2 separate regions of the Homo sapiens genome follow, and region 1 is linked to region 2. Evidence: promoter capture Hi-C in human tissues and cell types (Jung and others, 2019). All regions are on one chromosome and are shown on one strand. Each heading gives the region's core, a stretch centred on a gene start or on the middle of the fragment in contact. The rest is flanking DNA. Distances are from core to core; before and after follow the strand shown.

What was found. Contacts are between HindIII fragments. The study calls those that stand out against the background at their distance.
Region 1: a fragment that was not itself captured here is called in contact with the fragment with the promoter of NOVA1 in region 2 in 1 of the 25 tissues and cell types used here (dorsolateral prefrontal cortex).

Annotation. Positions count from the first base shown.
Region 1 is chr14:26,966,911-26,970,003 of GRCh38, reverse strand. LOC105370419 (a long non-coding RNA gene) reads right to left here. Exons shown (of 3, transcript XR_001750687.1): 2 at 2,620-2,796. Among named protein-coding and RNA genes, the nearest start is that of MIR4307, 60 kb to the right of the region's middle. The HindIII fragment of the contact is 4,451 bases long and covers 1-3,093 here.
Region 2 is chr14:26,596,489-26,599,525 of GRCh38, reverse strand. It overlaps NOVA1 (NOVA alternative splicing regulator 1), which reads left to right and starts at 1,493. Exons shown (of 5, transcript NM_002515.3): 1 at 1,493-2,225. The coding sequence starts at 2,090. It overlaps NOVA1-DT (NOVA1 divergent transcript), which reads right to left and starts at 879. Exons shown (of 7, transcript NR_147061.1): 1 at 1-879. The HindIII fragment of the contact is 5,668 bases long and covers 1-3,037 here.

The sequences.
Region 1 (3,093 bases), core at 267-2,766, 370 kb before region 2:
ACTACAGGCGCCCGCCACCACGCCCGGCTAATTTTTTGTTTTTAGTAGAGACGGGGTTTCACCATGTTAGCCAGGATGGTCTCGATCTCCTGACCTCGTGATCCGCCCACCTTGGCCTCCCAAAGTGCTGGGATTACAGGTGTGAGCCGCTGCACCCAGCCTCATTTTTTTTTAGAATGATCTTTCTCTTCTACCTATACAAACCATGCTCACTCTCTCAAAGCCTTACTTACCTGACACATCATCAATTGGCTTTTCTTCAGAAATCCCTTTCCCTTTTCTCTGGACTCATATGTTATTACCAGTAGTTTTGATTTTGATTTGATTTGAATTATTTATATAAAATATCCCTAAGTTTTAATTTAACTTAATCCTTCCTCTCTAAAACTATTAGTTGCTTAAAATTTTACAACATTTGGCTAAGCATTATAAGCATCTTATAATGCTTAGTGAATATATGTCAAATGAATAAAGAAGTAAAAGTTACTGAGATAGTAACTTAAACATTAATGAAACAGTCAGTTAATATTATATTCATTTTATTGACTAGTTTTTCCTTGACAGTTGAAATTTAGCAAGATCTTGTAAGAGGTCACCATGAAAAACTATTTTTGGAATATTTTATTTTCTCAACTATCCTTTTCTTTGTCTTTGTATTTTAAGAAAAGTTGAAGTGATTAAATTACAATCAGATTTCACCCTAAACTAACCTTAAAGTAAGTCATAGTGGGCACTGTAAAGTTTTCCCCCAAAATGTGTTGTACTCAGAAACTGAGTACTCAGAAACAAGAGAAGAAATAAAAACAATGACGTATTCCTGGAAATTAGGAAGAGGATTTGTTTCATTGCAAAGCTTGGTAAAGTACCAGAATATCTTCCTGAAGATTCATAATTTCATGACCATAGTCAATCTTGACAATAACTTAACAATTAATGCTTACAACAAAATTAGAAAAAAGGCATAGAATTTGATTTATAAGTACATTCGGGGTAGCAGCCACTAGAATATGGATGTAAGATTTGTTTTGACAGTTCCTTACAATATAAGTTTGTGATACTTTGATAAAAATGTATATTATTGGCTGGGCGTGGTGGCTCATGCCTGTAAATCCCAGCACTTTGGGAGGCTGAGGTGGGCGGATCACGAGGTCAGGAGATCGAGACCATCCTGGCTAACATGGTGAAACCCCGTCTCTACTAAAAATACAAAAAAAAAAAAAAAAAATAGCTGGGCGTGGTGGCGGGTGCCTGTAGTCCCAGCTACTAGGGAGGCCGAGGCCAGGGAATGGCGTGAACCCAGGAGGCGGAGCTTGCAGTGAGCCGAGATTGCGCCACTGCACTCCAGCCTGGGTGACAAAGCGAGACTCCGTCTCAAAAAAAAAAAAAAAAATGCATATTATTAGCTCCTTCAGTTTGGATAACATTTGCCAGATCTTAGAATGATGCTGACTAAAATTATGATCTTGACTTCTTTATTACAATAAGATATTTTTAGATGATATTAAATTTCATTTAGTTGTACAAGACCTCAAAGCCACCAATAAGAGAGCACTAATTTATTCTGGGTGTTCTGATACAGTAGAATTTTAGGAAGCATTAAGCTTATATAATAATAGTAGTTAAGGGACTACTCCTACCTCAAAATGACATTTCTGGCTCTATTTTTTTTTCAAAATAACTTTGAAGTAAAGATTTCAGACCACACTCTGCCTCATGTTACATAAGTTTGGTTATATTAAATGTCTAACTATACAAAAAATGAGAAGAATAAAAAATATCATTTAAGATACAAAATACATTCCAACTTTTATCTCATCAGAGCATTTGTTTTTGTTTTTTTTCTACTTACTTCTAAAATGCACTATGAGTCTACAAATGGCTAAACACTTGGTTTATACTCTGAATGATTATCCATCACCATGAAAGGATCTAGAAGTGCTTCTTCAATTTACAATTATTATTTATCTTTAATAATGCAAAGGAAATAAGGGAAATCTAATTAACTCCTCAAGGACAAAGAAAGGTTTCAACAAGTGAGTGACCTGATATTAAAGAATCAGAGATGCTACTCAGCCTCTGACTTTTCCAGCTTCTGCTGTACTCTTGTGAAGATGTACATCCTTCACTGATCTAAAGCAGGGTTATAAAATATAATAGAATTAGGAAATTGCCGATGCAGATCATAAAATCTTTAATCTAAAACTCTTTAATGAAGTTCTAATTTTTCATATAGACATTTTAGTTAAGTCACAATTTTACATTTTTAATCTTTAATAATTTATCTACCAGTAACAGTTGAAGAATAAAAACAAAATACTCAGGAGAGCTAAATTTCTGATTTATGTATTTGGAAGAGTACTAACTGTCTACATCCCAAAGATTTTGCAATAATTTTGCACGTGTTATCTTTTTAACTCTGGAAATATCACTGTGACTTAGATTATCTGATCTTCATTTTTATAGATGAGGACAGGACAGTCAAGCTTATGTAAGATAGTTCAGTAATGTCACAAAGAGGAAAAAAAAACAGTTAACAAGTCAAAATCTAAGGCAGTGATTTAACTATTAATTTTAGGAAAACAGAGAATTTGCACTTTAAAAGGATCATGGAAAACCAACCGTAAAAAAGAGAGAATGCCTGCTTTGTTTTTGATCCTGGACAGGAATTCTTTAACATCTCACTGATAATCTGAATAGGCTATGATCCCAGGTCCAAGAACTGAATCCAACCAGCACCTGTGCATGACGCTGAGTCATCTATGTGATACTTCTTGCTGCCTTGAAAGGACCTCATGCCTAGAACAGAAAGTACTTTCAGGGAAAGAATGGCATTGACTTGACCTATTCCCCAGCTGCCTGGAGAGTAGTTCACACACGTCTAAGACTGTTTGCCTATCCAAAGGAAGCTTTAGATGAATTGCTCATTCATCATCCCAACGTCATTAATTCAGGGTTGATCTCTGTGAGAGTGCTCTATGACTCCTCAGTAATATAAAAAAAGGCTAAAGTTATACAAACAAGACAACTCTGTCCTCCAATCTATTGTGTAAGAAAACTTACAATGTCTTTCTGTGTCTTCCTAGGTTGCTATGA
Region 2 (3,037 bases), core at 244-2,743:
ACTACCTCATAAAATGGGGACAGTAATAACTACACGACATACTGCATGTAATTGACACAGCATGCAAAGTGGATTGTTTGCCACGTGGTAAGTAAGCCCTTAATAAATGGCAAGACGTTAAGGGATTTGCCCAAGATACACTTGTAAAACAGCCTACAAGGACCAGAAACCAAGGAAGATTTCAGACTCCGAATCCCATGCTTTTCTACTACCCTGCTTCCTAGAACACTGAGTTAATTAAACTACTAATTTGATGAACGACCTTGAGCAAAATACTTCACTGAGTCAGTTTACTCATCTGTAAAATGAGGGACTTGATTTAGATAATGCCTAACGTCCTTTCAGAGTCTATTCCAGCTACATTAGATGTTTTATCCGGTGTTGCAGGGTTGACGTTCAGGTCCGTGATATGTCCAAGATCTGTATAATCATAAGCCGTGCACATGGCAATGAATTTTATTCCGACACTCGTATTTCGTTCAATATTTAGTTCTGTGTGCACACTCAGCTGTTGCCTGTCTTTAGTCTGCCTACCAGCGCCTTGTGAAGGGAAGACCCACACCTAGCTTTATTTATTTATATCCTGGCTTGTTCCCGAAAGGATTTAAGGCGGCGAGTGACACTCTAAGTCCCCTAACGGTGTCACACAGTGCGATTAAGAAATCCTCTTTGGATGAAATCATACCGTAGAAAATCGCCGATGAGTGAGATGCTAACTAATTAATGTCTTTTACCCAACTCTTAAAAATAAAAACTAATGCACCTAGCAAGAAGTCCTGGAAGCATACAGTGCTGGCTCTCCCTCCAGCTCTGACGCTGTCCCACCCGTTGTCAACGGTCACTCGAATGCCCTTCTTAGACTAGCCAAAATTGTCGCCGCTCCAGTACCAGCTGGACCAAGATCCCACCCCACCCCTTCGCTGCCCCTCATCACCCAAGTTTCCTGATTGGGAAGGGGCCCGAAGAACCTTTCTCACATTTCTATTTTATTGGCTGGCACGGCTGTCAGTAATCTCTCCTTCCCGCCTTCTAGCCTAGCGCGTTTCGTGGACCCCTTGGTTTCTGCGACAAGCCGCTTACGTTTGCCTGAGCCGTGTTGCCGGGGACCAGCGACCTTTCACCCCTCCCTTCCCACAGGAGCGCCCCGGCCCCCGCCCCCGCCCCAACCGCCGGCGCGCGTCCTCACCGCGCACGCGCTCCCCTCGCGCGCGCACACGCTCGCGCACACACGCTCCCTCGCCCCCGCCCGCGGAGTTCCCCCTCACCCCTCAGCCGCCCCGCCGGCTGAAGCATCGGCGCTGGGAGGCGGCGGCGCTGCTGAGAGGCAGGGACCCGAGCGCGAAGTGTGTGGGAGTCTACGAACTCAACCCCTCTCTACCCTCCCCTCACAGCCACCCCCCTCCCTCCCCGCCAGCCCCCCCCAACAAGCGGGAGAAATAATGAGCGAGACCGGGCGGCAGCAGCAGCAGCGCCGAGCAGCCCAGGCAACGGCAGAACCGCTCCGGCAGCGGCGGCGGCGGCAGCACCAGCAGCGGGAGCGAGCGCAACGCTAGCGCGGCGCGGGGACCGCCGCGCTCCTTCCCGGCTCCTGCCCTCCTCTGCCGCTCGCTCCTCTCTCGGCATCCACCTCCTTCCCCTCCTCCTGCTCATTCACTCTTTCCCTCACTCTCCCCTCCTCCTCGGCTTCTCCCCGCGCCCCGCCAGCCCTCGCGCTCTCCCACTCCCTCTGCCTGTCCTCCCCGGTCCCCTCCTCCCGCTCATTCACTCGCCCCTCTCCCTTCTCCACTCTCTCCCCCTGTCTCCTTTCTTCTTCTTCTTTCACCCTCCGTCTCTCACACCCCCTCCATTCCCCTGTCTCCTTTCTGACACTGCACTGCAGCTGCTCCTCAGCCCTGCCCCCTCCCCAGTGAGAACAAACCAGCAACATTGCTTTTTTTCCTAAAGAGATTTATATTGATCCGATTAAAAAAAAAAAACCTTAAGAAACCCCAAACGCAAAAAAAAAAAAAAAAAAAAAAGAAAAAAGAAAAGAAAAAGCCAAAACAAAAGGGAGAACCTTCTCCCGGTAGCAGCGGCAGGAACTGCAAACATGATGGCGGCAGCTCCCATCCAGCAGAACGGGACCCACACTGGGGTTCCCATAGACCTGGACCCGCCGGACTCGCGGAAAAGGCCGCTGGAAGCCCCCCCTGAAGCCGGCAGCACCAAGAGGACCAATACGGGCGGTGGGTATCGCTTCCACCTCCCCGCTGGCCCCATCCCCCGCCGCCCGCCCCTGCCTCCCTCCCTCGCCGTCCTCCCTCCCTCCTTCCCTCCCTCCCTCCCGCGGCCCGGACACCTCCAGCCCGAACCCGGCGGCCCCTGCGCCCCTGCCCCGCGCCCCCTCCCCTGCACCTGCCCCGCGCCTAGGTGTCCCCGACACATTTCCATTTCTGTGTTTATCATTCATCAAAATGGCGACCAGTTTTTCGGAATAGACCTATCTTTCCATTTAATCGGTCCAGAGGTTGACCATGTAAATATCCTAGACCTGGGCAAGAAGGTCCATTCAGGAGGAGGAGGAGGATGACCCCGGAGTGAGGTGATGGCCGCCCGAAGATGCGCGCTGCGTTTAACAGTCTGATAAAATAAATAAATAAATGGCACTTGGGTAGCGGATTGCGAATGACTGGGGCGCCGGAGAGTTTTTCCTCTCTCCATCCTCTTGCTTTGGGCCACAAGTAGTATGCAAAATCTTGATGAGTGCATGCCCTTACCGCACTTAGATTGTCGGTGCAAATATTTCATTGATTTGTCTTCAGGGGGGTGCATACGAGGGTGGGGGTGTCTGGAACGGTGACTTGTTAGTTAACATCCTGCGCTTCCTTGGAAGATGAGTTTTAACGGGACCGATATCGCTTCTTCATTTGCACTGGAATCATCTTAACAATGCACCCAATGCATCGAAGCAGAGGTGAATTTATCTCCAGCATATGCATTGTAGACGGATGGGGGTCTTTTGAGTGGCACACCACAACATTTGGAACATTCATTCACA